Regions from separate parts of the Homo sapiens genome. Here regions 1 and 3 are each linked to region 2. The links are contacts of gene promoters, found by promoter capture Hi-C in blood cells and fetal thymus (Javierre and others, 2016). All regions are on one chromosome and are shown on one strand. Each heading gives the region's core, a stretch centred on a gene start or on the middle of the fragment in contact. The rest is flanking DNA. Distances are from core to core; before and after follow the strand shown. Region 1 overlaps ADAM15 (ADAM metallopeptidase domain 15). Region 2 holds the start of TDRD10 (tudor domain containing 10). Region 3 overlaps DCST2 (DC-STAMP domain containing 2).

Region 1 (4,101 bases), core at 1,602-4,101, 560 kb after region 2:
GACAGGTAGGACCCAGCCTCTGCTGGGCTCCATCCGGGATCTACTCTGGGAGACAATAGATGTGAATGGGACTGAGCTGAACTGCAGCTGGGTGCACCTGGACCTGGGCAGTGATGTGGCCCAGCCCCTCCTGACTCTGCCTGGCACAGCCTGTGGCCCTGGCCTGGTGAGCAGCCTGGGTGGGCAAGACCAGGTGTGAGAAGGGACATTTGGACCACAATGAACAGAGCCCAGACTTCACCATTCACCAATGTCAAAGGCAGGGACTCCAAGGGAAGTCAGTTTCTTACTTCAGATGGAGCAAAGTCCTATCAACTCACTATGCCTTGGTTTCCCCATCTGTAAACGCAGGGTATGGCCTCAACCTTATTGGCCTCCCAGTCCCATTAAAGCTTTGTGGGAATCTGATCCAGGCTCTTCTCTCCCTGGGTCAGGTGTGTATAGACCATCGATGCCAGCGTGTGGATCTCCTGGGGGCACAGGAATGTCGAAGCAAATGCCATGGACATGGGGTGAGCTGGGATGGGGGAAGTGGAAGGGGAGCAGAGAGCCTCTAGAGAGGAAAAGGATACTGGGCTTTGGAAATAGACATATCTGGGTTTTAATCCTTGCTCTACTACTTCCCAGTTGTGTGACCTCGGGCAGGTTACTAACTTTGCTGAGCTCAGTTTCCCCACCTATCAAATGGCTATAATAATAGTATCCCCATCCAGGGTACATGAGATGAGTATGAAAGCATCTAGCACAGGCTGGGCACAATGGCTCATGCCTATAATCACAGTTTTTTTGTTTGTTTGTTTGTTTTGTTTTGAGACAGAGTCTCGCTCTGTTGCCTAGGCTGGAGTGCGCTGGCGTGATCTCGGCTCACTGCAACCTCTGCCTCCCAGGCTCAAACATTACTCATGTCTCAGCCTCCCTACTCGCTGGGATTACAGTCACCCGCCACCATGCCCAGCTAATTTTTGTATTTTCAGTAGAGATGGGTTTCACCATGTTGGCCAGGCTAGTCTTGAACTTCTGACCTCAAGTGATCCTCCCGCCTCAGCCTCCCAAAGTGCTGGGATTATAGGGGTGAGCCACTGCACCCAGCCAAATCACAGTACTTTGGGAGGCCAAGGCAGGAGGATTACTTGAGGCCAGGAGTTCAAAACCAGCCTGGTCAACATAGTGAGACCCCCATCTCTTTCAAGGAAAAATTTAAAAATTATTCAGGCCTGCTGGTGCACACCTATGCTCCCAGCTACTTGGGAGGCTGAGGCAGGAGGACTGCTTGAGCCCAGGAGTTTGGGGCTGCAGTGAGCCATAATTGCACCACTGCACTCCAGCCTGGGCAACAGAGTGAGACTCCATCTTACTTGCTGTCTAAAATAAAATAAAATAAAACAAAACAAAACAAACACAAAGAAAGAAAGCATGTACCACAGTGCCCAGCACACAGAAGGAGCTCAGTAAGTGTTAGTTTGATCTAATTTGCTCTGGTATGGATAAAGACCCTCCCTCCGGGCTGTCTCTACACACATACCCAGCACAACCCCCAGTTGTAGAAATCTGAGATCTTGAAAAGCTAGAGACAAGGAAATAGTTCCAGAGTGCAGAGCTCCTCATTGCTCGCCTTGTACCTCCTAGGTCTGTGACAGCAACAGGCACTGCTACTGTGAGGAGGGCTGGGCACCCCCTGACTGCACCACTCAGCTCAAAGGTAGCATGGGGGTGGGGGACAGGGGCAGCTGGGAGGGCAAAGCGTCTCATGCTTTATCTTGCCCCCTCGGCCCTCTCTTTCTGACCCCCCTTTGCTGCTGGTTCCCTGAGTCTGTGCCCCTTGAACCCTTCACTCTCCCTGATCACTTGACTTCACTCCCTGCCCCCTGCGCCTTCATGGATCTAGAGTTCTTAGCCCCGTCCTCCCTTAAACCTGACTTCCGCCCACAGCAACCAGCTCCCTGACCACAGGGCTGCTCCTCAGCCTCCTGGTCTTATTGGTCCTGGTGATGCTTGGTGCCAGCTACTGGTACCGTGCCCGCCTGCACCAGCGACTCTGCCAGCTCAAGGGACCCACCTGCCAGTACAGGTATGAGCATCACCTCCCTGCTACCACTTCCTTCAACTGGGGACAGTGCTGAAGGCTGCCTCACCTCTGCAGCCCCTGCCACCTGGTTCTGAGCCCCAGGCCCCTTGGACCTTAAAGTTGCTGACTGCCATACCCCACACCTCCCTTCCCTATATGTGCCCACAGCTTTTTACCTCACAGCTGTGCCCCTGTGGGGTGGCTGGATTGCTAGGGCCATTTCTCCCCAGGAGCCCCTGTGCTGGATAAGTAGGGTCTTCCCTCAAGCTAATAAATACTGCCCCCCACCCCGGCCCTACCACAATTTTACCTAAACCACACATAAGTGCCTGCAAAGGGTTAACCCCACTCAGGGATGGCATATGGTAGAAAACAGGGTCTGAGGCTGGGCCCTCTCCCTTCTTGCCTTTCCTCATGCATAGGGCAGCCCAATCTGGTCCCTCTGAACGGCCAGGACCTCCGCAGAGGGCCCTGCTGGCACGAGGCACTAAGGTGAGTCCTGGATGCCAGAGGAAGGGGACTCCACCTTGGCCGGGCATCCAGCTTGGGCCCTGGGGGGTGCGCATTAAAGGCTCCAGACTCAGAGAAAGGCTAGCACTGCCCAAGAGTCAGTCGAAGGAGTCAGGGCCAGCCCTGCCCTCCCCTCCCCTGGCTACAGGCAGGGAAGCTGAGTCCAGAAGAGTGGGGAGGGCAGCCAGCTGGAGCAGGAGCTGCTGGGCTCCGTCCGCTGGCCAAGAGGTGGCTTTGAGAGGTGGATCTATCCATGCCCCCAGCAGTGACCCCAGGAGGGCACAAGGGCAGTGGTGCTCAGAATGGCCTTCCGTAGGCCCAGGTCACCATGTTAGAAGGGCTGGTGAGCATCCCCACCCTGAGCCCTCTGCTTGGATGATGGGAGTGTGTGCACACCTCCTCCCCACTCGCTCCCCACCTGCATGCACCTGCATAACTGCATGCACAGCACCCACTGCCCTGGGCCCCTGCTGGCCCCCCCTGGGCACTGACCCTTCCCTGCCCACTCTGTCTCTCTGCTTCCTCTTCCCCCTCTGTGCCTATCTGCCCCTCCTGCCCTCTCAGCAGGCTAGTGCTCTCAGCTTCCCGGCCCCCCCTTCCAGGCCGCTGCCGCCTGACCCTGTGTCCAAGAGACTCCAGGTAAATCTGGGCCAGGGCCCGCCCTGAGCCAAGGCAGGTGGGAGGCTTGGTACCCAACTGCAGTTCTCATCCCTGCTCCCTGCCAGTGGTGCTCTTCATTAGGTGATCGGGGTGCCCCTCAGCCTTCAGACACTCTGAGCCCCAGAAGCAGCAAAGGGTGAGCCTCCTGCCTTGGTTTCTACCACCATCTGGTGGTCAATGGCGGGACTGCAGTCGGCCAGGGACTGCGGTTGACCTACACCTTCCTCCCCTGAGACATCAGCTGGCATGCCTCCAAGCCCTCTGCGCATGCCCTCATTCTCTCCTGCCCCCTGGCTGACTTTGCATGTTGACTTGAACCCCTCTGGGGAATCTCTGTGCATGTCCACAGCCCCTGGTTATGCTCTCACAGCCACTGCCCCTCTCTCTGTTCAGGCTGAGCTGGCTGACCGACCCAATCCCCCTACCCGCCCTCTGCCCGCTGACCCGGTGGTGAGAAGCCCGAAGGTAACGGTGGGGGGAGAGAAGGGCACGGCCTCTCCCCCCACCTAGGGCTGTGGTGCTGGTAGCCATGACGGTGGTGGCCGTGGCGAGATGCCCCCTCAGTGCATGAGGGCACATATCCCGGTGGTGCCTTTAATGGTGACAGGTTTGTTTGCAGACAAGGGTGACCGCTGGTGCTGCCCCCAAGCTGGTGTTCCCCAGCACCAGTGCGTTGGGGGTGGGCAACATGACACCCCCCCACCTAAGCCGGCCTCCTGCCTTCTCTCCCTCAGTCTCAGGGGCCAGCCAAGCCCCCACCCCCAAGGAAGCCACTGCCTGCCGACCCCCAGGGCCGGTGCCCATCGGGTGACCTGCCCGGCCCAGGGGCTGGAATCCCGCCCCTAGTGGTACCCTCCAGGTAGGAG
Region 2 (4,553 bases), core at 1,780-4,279:
TTGTCCGTTTGGCATCATAAGGGTCAGCATAGTCTTCTAAAATGATGACCTGAAAAAGAACAAGAGAGGACAGTTGCTAAGGGCCACCGTATACCAAAATGGCAATGGTATCAAAATGGCTACTGACATCTCCTGCATATCCAAGGAGGTCAAAATCTCTATAACCAGTTCCAGATAGCTTTTGCACTTGATCATGTGTCCCAGTTAGACAAACACCTGTTTTTTTTGGTTGTACAGTTGATTTGCAACAATTCATCTAACTCTTTCACTTATCCCCAAGGCTCTTTATACCTCCCTTTATTTCTCCAAGCAATAAAACATTTTCTGGGTTAGAGGGTGGCAGGGGTGGATGTGGGGAGTGAAGGCTACCTGTGGCTTTAGAGCATAAAGGGTATGTGGCTTTACCACATACCCTTTATGAATTGAGTTTTTTAAACTCCAATCAGCTGAGCAGTACAGTCATAATGAGTCAGTCAGTCATCCACCAGCACTGGCTAGGCACTGTGAAGGAGTCAAAATAAACCCAAGACATGCTTCCTGTCCTCAAGGAGTGGATCACAGCTCCAAAGACACAGGCTTCATAGATGAGAAGTAGGTCAGTACTAAACAGTATTGTAGGTGTTCTACGTTCAATAATTCACAGGCAAACTGACTGTCACAGGCTACAGACCAGATAGGGTTTTGATCCCTATCTGGGATCCCCTATTTTGTGTCAGAAAGCATCCATCTTTCCAAAAATAGAAGGCACCTGAGGAGGTGGTGTGTGACAACATGGGTGACAACACCAGAGGGTAGGGGACCCTTCTCAGGAAGGAAGCTCCAGGCCTTGCTCCACAACCTCTGTTACATTCTCCAAAGAGTTTAGAAGTAACACTGGAGTTGGTGAGAATTCAGATACATGAGGAGAAGCGAAGAGGAGGAAACAGCCTGGAAATAGCCTCAGAAACCTCAGACACCCAGAAGTGACAACCATAAAAATAACCAGACAACCACTGCAAGGGACTGTGACTGCGACTGCCATTCACTTAATCCATTTTTCTTGACTACCCACCATGTGTACCGCATTTGCAAGATACAGTGAGCCCTTGGCTTCAAGGTGCTTGTGATCTAGTCACACAGTCAGGTGGACCACTGAATAACATATGAGCTGGGTCCCCGTCCATCTTTACACAGCTCTCCACTCAGTGCCTGGCTCAGGGTGGGCATGCTGTATTTACAGCATGAAAAAATGAATGGAAGAATGAACAGAAGTGCCCAATGCAGACATACACAGCATGTGTTATGGGCTCTTGACTTCAACCAGGGAGGTAGCATGTTTGAAGCCTGGGCAAGAGAAAATTAAAGCTCCCATGCATGTTAGGAAGTGATTGCCTGGACCGGAGTCTGAAATCTCGATTTGAGCTCTTCTCTCTCCCCCTTTCACATCGGAGAGAAGATAAAAACAACCAGATCGGACCAACTCATCTCAGCAAGAATGGAGGGAGTCCCTTCCTATGTTCACACTCCTTTTCTTAACTTTTCCACATTGGACAGCACCCAGAAAACCTCCAGTGTGTCCGTCGCAGGAAACACCCTCTCTTCTCATCTGTAATTTCCTTGAGAGCATTTCCTTGTCATATTCTGTATCCTCCACAGCCCTTAATGCCCTGTGCTCCTTTCCTCATATGGCTGCTGCGCAACAAATGCCCATGGAATGAATGAAAGGGCAGCAGTCTTGGAGATTTGCTGAACCTCCGAGGAGCCCTTTACTCGGTGGAACCGCAGAAAATGATGGAACTTCCAAATCAGTGGAGAAGACTGTTGGTTAAACCATTTCCTGAAGCTTTGAAATGCATATCTACACACTTGAGAGGTTACCATTCCTTATGCTCAAGAAGCATAAAAGTCATACACAAGCCTAGCTTTGCAATTCCCCTGAATATCAAAATTAAAATGAACCACATCTATAAAGGGGTCAAATGTAACCAAACAGGAATATCTCATTCAACGACTCTTCTAAACTGCTAACAAAATTCAATGGCTAGTACATTTCTGCAAAACTCCCCACCTCTAAAATAAGAGTTTTTCAAGAATTAAAAAACAGTCTAAGAATTTTAAATGGTCAGGAATTCCCAAATGGTGGAGGGAGAAAGGACCTTAGGAAACCTATCCTCACTGCCTCTTAGGTCTAAAGAAGCCTAGGGCTTAGCAGGCGCCCAGGGCTCCCCTTCGACTGAGAGGTGGTCCAAGGGAGGCTGTATTCTTACCGTCTCTTGCTGCTTAATAATCTTGCCCTTGTCCAGCTCGGGCCCCAGGGAGGAAGGGGAAGAGGACGCGGAGGAAGAGGAGCTGGAGCTGGAGCTACTGCTGCTGGGGTAGTTGCTCTTCCCGTTCTTCTCCTGAGTGTCCACCTTGATGAGCCTGTTGATGTAGGTGCTGCAGCCCGAGCTCTTGGTTGCACCCCGGTGGGGCTCCTCCTCCGTGGCCCGGGAGTTTTTGCGGCCCTTGCCCGCGGCGGCCTGAATCAGACCCTGCAGGCTGTCGCGGGACAGCCGGCTGTCCTTGGGGCCGACGCCGGCCCTGCCGCTCCCCAGCTCGGCCGCCGAGTTCTTGCGGCCCTTGCCAGGACCCGGCCCAGCGCCGCCCGCCTCCGAGTTCTTGCGCAATTTGCCGCCGCCGCCCCCGGGCTTGGCCCGCTCCGACACGGTCTTCAGGTTCAGGGGGAACTCCTTGAACCACTTGGCCGCCATGAGGGGGCCCCGGCCGGCTCGGCCCAGGAGCGTCGGGGCCGTGGAGCAGGCGAGCGAGGAAGCCCAGCCCAGACACGCAGAGGCGCCAGGGGTCGGGGACCACTGCATTCCCCGTGACTGGGGCGCTGGAGGCCGCGGCGAGGCCCCGCGACGGCTGCTCCGTGCGCCCCCGGCCGGCCGTCGCCCACGCCCGGCAGGGTGGGGTTCTCACGGCTCGGGGCGCCGAGCGGGCGGGCGCTAGCCTCTGCTCCGGACACGGCAGGCGACAGGCACGACGCGCGGGGGGCCCCGCCCGGGCTCGTCTTCAACGCCTGCCCGGCCCGAGGACACCGTGGCTCTCGGAGGCGGCGGGCGCCGGGGGCTTCCCCCTGCTCTTTCCTCCTGCGGTGGGAGAGGCCAGGCCCACGGAAGCCCCCTGCGGCCCAGCCCACGCTCCCAGGGACCAGAGAGGACCGAGCGGAGGCGGCGGGAGTATCCCCGGCGCAGCGACAGACGGTGGACGGACGGCGAGCGGCCCATCAACTCCGCGCGCCCCTCCCCTCCGCGGCTGGCGCCTCCCAGCCCCGCCACCTCCTGCCCAGAGCTGGGGGCGGCGGGGTGAGCGCCATGGCAGAGGCGGGTCGGGCTGCGAGCTCTGGAGAAAGGGGCGGCGGCCGCACGTGCGGATCGGCCGCGCCCCACTGAGCAGAGAGCCCCCTTCTGCCGCCGACAGCCCGCGTCTGCACCGAGCCGGTCTCGGCCGGGCGCTGCCTTCACACGCGCCCAGGAGTGTCACGTGCGCCGCTCACCCCCGGGAAGGAAGCCCCTCGCCCACCCACTCCGCTCTACTCCACTCTTTCTGCAGACGTTATTTTTGGCGGTAGGGCAGAGGTTGCGGCCCGAGGTCCGGGCGCAGGGACAACGGTCGCCAGCTCCTGCGCTAGTTCCGTTACTCTTCGGTGGCACACGGTCCTGGGCAGCGCGAGGCTCTTCCCGCCGTGGCCGCCGGGGATTGGCTGCCGGCAAGCCCCGCCCCGTGCCCCCGGGCTCAGAGGGGGCGGAGCGCGGAGGGAGAAGGCGCGAAGGCTGGGCGTCGCGATCGCAGGTGCACGCGCGTGGCCCGCGAGACGAGGTATGGCTTGTCGGCCCCAGGTCCCGGGATGCCAGGCGAGGGTTGGGAGGGAGGGGCGTCGGCAGGCAGCCATGGGAAACGCCCTCGTCCCGACTGATGGGGGAAAGGGGTCGCTGTTCCCGCGGGGCCGTCGCTCGCTCGCGCCGGTTGGGAGCGGCCCTCCTAGTCTGGATTTGTGCGGGCGGGGAGTGCCGTGTGCAGAACTGTGGCCACTTTAAGGGAAAAGACGCCTCTGCCATTCCTCCCTCCCTTCGAAGCCCTTTAAAAGCTTTCTGAGGCCGGGCGCGGTGGCTCACGACTGTAATCCCAGCACTTTGGGAGGCCGAGGCGGGCAGATCACCTGAGATCAAGAGTTCGAGACCAGCCTGGCCAACATGGTGAAACCTGGTCTCTACTAAAAATACAAAAATTAGCCGGGCGTGGTGGTGCGCGCCTATGGTTGCAGCTACTCAGGAGGCTGAGGCAGGAGAATCGCTTGAACCCGGGAGGCGCAGGTTGCAGTGAGCTGAGATCAAGTCACTGCACTCCAGCCTGGGCGACAGAGCGAGACTCCGTCTCAAAAAGACAAAAAACAAACAAACAAAAAAACACCTTTCTGGTTTAAAAAAAGAAATTTAAACTTAGTTTACTGAACGGAAATCTTTTGGTTTAGCAAACTAAATGTGCTGAAGGGGCTGACCAACACTGAGTCCTCATATACAATGGAAACAGAA
Region 3 (4,112 bases), core at 835-3,334, 530 kb after region 2:
AAAGCCAAAAAAGCCAGCCACTAGCTAAGCCCCCTGGGGAGGGGGCAGGGACTAGCTCCCAGCCCCGGACCCCTCACCTGCTCCCGGGATGGGTAGTAGGAGGCACAGATGACTCGCCGCAGCCGGCTGACATAGCTGCCAAACAGGGTGATGAAGAAGCATAGGCCATACATGACGCCTGGGAGCACAGCAGCCACAGTCAGCCTCACCAGCAGGCACAAGTGCCAGCCCACCCCTGGCGCCCCCCACATCCTCAGCAGTCTGCACCCCTCATTTCCCACATGGTGTCCACGCCCCCAGGGACCTCAGGGTGTAGTTGATACCAATGACTATGTAGCCAGTGCTGTCAGGCTCCGAGGGACGAAGGAGACAACGCCGGGACAAAATACTGATGTTGCCTTGCTGCAGGACATCAAATGCTGACACCAGGTCACGATAAATATTCCCAGCGTAGCCAGTACCTTCCACGGTTAGAGACACCAACACAGGACCTGGCACAAAGACACTGTGTGAGTGACACTCATGGCAGTTGCTATGCAGAAAACCCCACACCTTCTGGAATGAGGAAAGTGGAGCAGCGCAGGTCATAGGATGACTCAGACCCTTGGCTGGGGGCCTCTGATGCCTCAGGCACCCTCATGGTGCCCTGGGGCCTGACCTCAGTTCTGGCTCCTAGGACTGGCCCCATGGTCCAACTGGGTGGTACTGGTGTCTGGTCTTCCTATCCAAGCCACCATATCTAAGATGACCTTAATGGTCAGTGAGTCCACCCCCCGGCCTCCATGACCACCCAGAAGCATTTATTTTTTTTTTTAATTTATTTTTTGAGACAGGGTTTCACTTTGTCACCCAGGCTGGAGTGCAGTGGTGTGATCTTGGCTCACTGCAGCCTCAACTTCCCAGGTTTGAGTGATTCTCCTGCCTCAGCCTCCCAAGTTGCTGGGACTATAGGCACGTGCCACCACGACCGGCTATTTTTTTTTTTTTTTTTTTTTTGTAAAGAGATAGGGTTTCACCATGCTGGCCAGGCTGGTCTCAAACTCCTGAGCTCAAGCAATCCGCCTGCCTTAGCCTCCCAAAGTGCTAGGATTACAGGTGTGAGCCACCGAGTAAGACCCCCAGAAACATTTATTGGCTGAGCACTGACTGTGTAGCAGACACTTCGCCTGCCTTAGCCTCCCAAAGTGCTAGGATTACAGGTGTGAGCCACCGAGTAAGACCCCCAGAAACATTTATTGGCTGAGCACTGACTGTGTAGCAGACACTTAACCAAGTGCTTTATTGTTTGTTTTGGGGTTTTGGTTTTTGTTTTTTAGGAGTTTTTTACTTCTTTTTTTTTTTTTTTTTTTTTTTTGAGACAGGGTATCACTCTGTCACCCAGGCTGGAGTGCAGTGGTGTGATCTCGGCTCACTGCAGCCTCTGCCTCCTGGGTTCAAGTGATTCTTGAGCCTCAGCCTCCCAAGTAGCTGGGATTATAGGTGCCCACCACTATGCCTGGCTCATTTTTTTGTATTTTTAGTAGAGACAAGGTTTCACCATGTTGGCCATGCTGGTCTTGAACTCCTGACCTTAGGTGATCTGTCTGCCTCAGCCTCCCAAAGTGCTAGGATTACAGGCGTGAGCCACCGCACCTGGCTCACATTCTCAATTAATGGCTTACCAGGCACTCGACACACATAATTTATTTTATTTTATTTTATTTTATTATTATTATTTTAGACAGAGTTTCACTCTTGTTGCCCAGGCTGGAGTGCAGTGGCAGGATCTCGGCTCACTGCAACCTCTGCCTCCCAGGTTCAAGTGATTTTCCTGCCTCAGCCTCCCAAGTAGCTGGGATTACAGGCACCTGCCACGACGCCTGGCTAATTTTTTGTATTTTTAGTTGAGATGGGGTTTCATTATGTTGGCCAGCCTGGTCTCAAACTCCTGACTTCAGGTGATCTACCCGCCTCATCCTCCTAAAGTGCTAGGATTACAGGCATGAGCCACCCGCCTGGCCCCAACACACATAATCTAATTTATTCCTTACAGTGACCCAGAGAGGTTGCTACCATTATTATTCCACTATTCAGATGAGGAAACTGGGCCAGGACAGTGGCTCACGCCTGTAATACCAACACTTTGGAAGGCTGAGGTGGGTGGATCACCGGAGGTCAGGAGTTCGAGAGCAGCCTGAGCAATATGGTTAAACCCCGTCTCAACTAAAAATACAACTGGACATGGTGGCATGTGCCTGTAGTCCCAGCTACTTGGGAGGCTGAGACAGGAGAATTGCTTGAACCCGGGAGGCAGAGATTGTAGTGAGCCAAGATTGCACCACTGCACTCCAGCCTGGGTGACAGAGTGAGACTCCATCTCAAAAAAAAAGGCCAAGCATGGTGGCTCACACCTGTAATCCCAGCACTTTGGGAGGCCAAGGCCAGCAGATCATGAGGTCAAGAGATCAACACCATCCTGGCCAACACAGTGAAACCCCATCTCTACTAAAAATACAAAAATAAGCTGGGCATGGTGGCATGTGCCTGTAGTCCCAGCTACTCAGGAGGCTGAGGCAGGAGAATCACTTAAACCTGGGAGGCGGAGGCAGTGAGCCGAGATGGCGCCACTGCACTCCAGCCTGGTGACAGAACGAGACTCTGTCTCAAAAAAAAAAAAAAAAAAAGAGGAAACTGAAGCTGAAGAGGTTAAGCAACTTGCTGAAGGTCACCGCCTAATAAAGGACAGAGCTGGGATTTGAACCCTGGCCAGTGTGACTCTAGAGCTTGCATTTTTAACTACTCTGTAAGTTATAATCTTGACCTAGACATAGGTGTTACTAGGCAAAGCATAGAGTTGAAAGAGTGGCACACTTGTGGGCTGCTGAGTAACAGTGACATGGGGACATTCAGGCAGTCACCAGGACTGAGGATGGGAAGAGGAGAAGGCTTGGGAGCAGGCGGGGAGATCAGAAACAGGCCGAGGGGGCTGCAGTGGGTGAGTGGGAGGAGGCTGTCACGTAGGCACTCACTGCGGGCCACAATCTCCCCCTGCAGCTGGTGCCGGGCCAGGTCAAGCACCCAGAAGACAGCATAGTCTAGGAAGACTAGGAACAGCACGAGGAGGAGGTGTCGGATAAGGTTGAAGGTCTCCAGAATGTAAAAAAACTTCTCCCATTGGGACAAGAAGATGGAGCCTGAGCAGGAGTGGGATGGTCAGGAGGATGCTCCCCAGTTCTCCCGTCCACCAGATCCCAGTTCTTGGAGAGGCCTCCTGCCCCTAATCAGGTGTGGGCCCGTCTGCTCATCAGGAATACGGAAAAGAAAAGAAGCTGTGAGGACTCTGGCAAGGATGGAAAATACTCTTCAGGGGAGGGGGCTCCGTGGCTAGAAGGGAGGGGCCTGCCTAGCATCTCCACCTGGCCCTGTGGCCCATTCCAGTCTAAGGAGCCCTCCCTCCTAGGGCATCCCTCATCCCCTTACCTGCCTCCCCACCTCACAGGCAGTCCTCCCCCTCCATATTAGCACTTCCTGCCCACCCCGGGGAAGCCCTCCCAACTTGACTTCCCTCGCTCTGTGTCCATCCCCTGCTGTCCTGATGTCCAGGGTGCTCCCAGAAGCACCATCTGCCCCTCTTGTCTCTGGCTACTTTCTCCAAGGGTGTCTATGTTCCCCCTTTCAGACTGCGGGCTCCCCAAGGACCGGGCAGTGTCTTCCCTCAGCCTGAAAGTTCCTTAAGCTCTGGGTTGTGTCTCCTCCCTCTGGCCCCTGCCCCAAGCCCATCCTGAGCCCTGCCTGTGCAGGGGCTTAGGGGCAGGGCAGCGGGGTGGGGGGAAGCCCTGGCCTCCCTGGCTTGGGCTCTCCCTGTCCTCAGGGCCCTCACCCGGTGGGATGTAGCGCCTGGCCTCGTGAGCACTGAGCGGTAGCACTGTGGGCAGCCCTGCCGTGGAGCGCACAGCCTCCATGCGCAGGAATCGGCTAGTGATGTAGATATTGTCATAATGGTCCCAGTTCAGGTAACAATACCGGTAAAATAGGGCTCTGGGAAGGGGAGGTGGAGCACATGTGAGGCCCCTTAGGACCCCAGGCCAGACCCCACAGGGCATCCGCGCTTCAACCCCACAACTTCAACCTCC

Evidence for each region. Contacts are between HindIII fragments. The CHiCAGO score rates a contact against its expected background, and 5 or more counts as called.
Region 1: a fragment that was not itself captured here is called in contact with the fragment with the promoter of TDRD10 in region 2 in 4 of 17 cell types (naive B cells, non-activated CD4 T cells, activated CD4 T cells and 1 more); the score reaches 7.5 in naive B cells.
Region 3: a contact is called between a fragment that was not itself captured here and the fragment with the promoter of TDRD10 in region 2, in 1 of 17 cell types (activated CD4 T cells). The highest score is 5.8, in activated CD4 T cells.

Annotation. Positions count from the first base shown.
Region 1 is chr1:155,058,276-155,062,376 of GRCh38, forward strand. It overlaps ADAM15 (ADAM metallopeptidase domain 15), which reads left to right. Exons shown (of 23, transcript NM_207197.3): 15 at 1-166; 16 at 435-512; 17 at 1,627-1,699; 18 at 1,930-2,068; 19 at 2,488-2,557; 20 at 3,140-3,214; 21 at 3,629-3,700; 22 at 3,970-4,094. All of the region lies in intron 1 of DCST1-AS1 (DCST1 antisense RNA 1), which reads right to left. ADAM15-EFNA4 (ADAM15-EFNA4 readthrough) reads left to right here. Exons shown (of 26, transcript NR_176418.1): 15 at 1-166; 16 at 435-512; 17 at 1,627-1,699; 18 at 1,930-2,068; 19 at 2,488-2,557; 20 at 3,970-4,094. Among named protein-coding and RNA genes, the nearest start is that of EFNA4, 3.4 kb to the right of the region's middle. The HindIII fragment of the contact is 4,923 bases long and covers 391-4,101 here.
Region 2 is chr1:154,499,190-154,503,742 of GRCh38, forward strand. It overlaps TDRD10 (tudor domain containing 10), which reads left to right and starts at 3,030. Exons shown (of 13, transcript NM_182499.4): 1 at 3,030-3,840. It overlaps SHE (Src homology 2 domain containing E), which reads right to left and starts at 3,223. Exons shown (of 6, transcript NM_001010846.3): 1 at 2,247-3,223; 2 at 1-49. The coding sequence starts at 2,837. The HindIII fragment of the contact is 2,286 bases long and covers 1,821-4,106 here.
Region 3 is chr1:155,026,225-155,030,336 of GRCh38, forward strand. It overlaps DCST2 (DC-STAMP domain containing 2), which reads right to left. Exons shown (of 15, transcript NM_144622.3): 7 at 3,860-4,017; 8 at 3,009-3,173; 9 at 324-491; 10 at 78-178. Among named protein-coding and RNA genes, the nearest start is that of DCST2, 5.5 kb to the right of the region's middle. The HindIII fragment of the contact is 6,271 bases long and covers 1-4,112 here.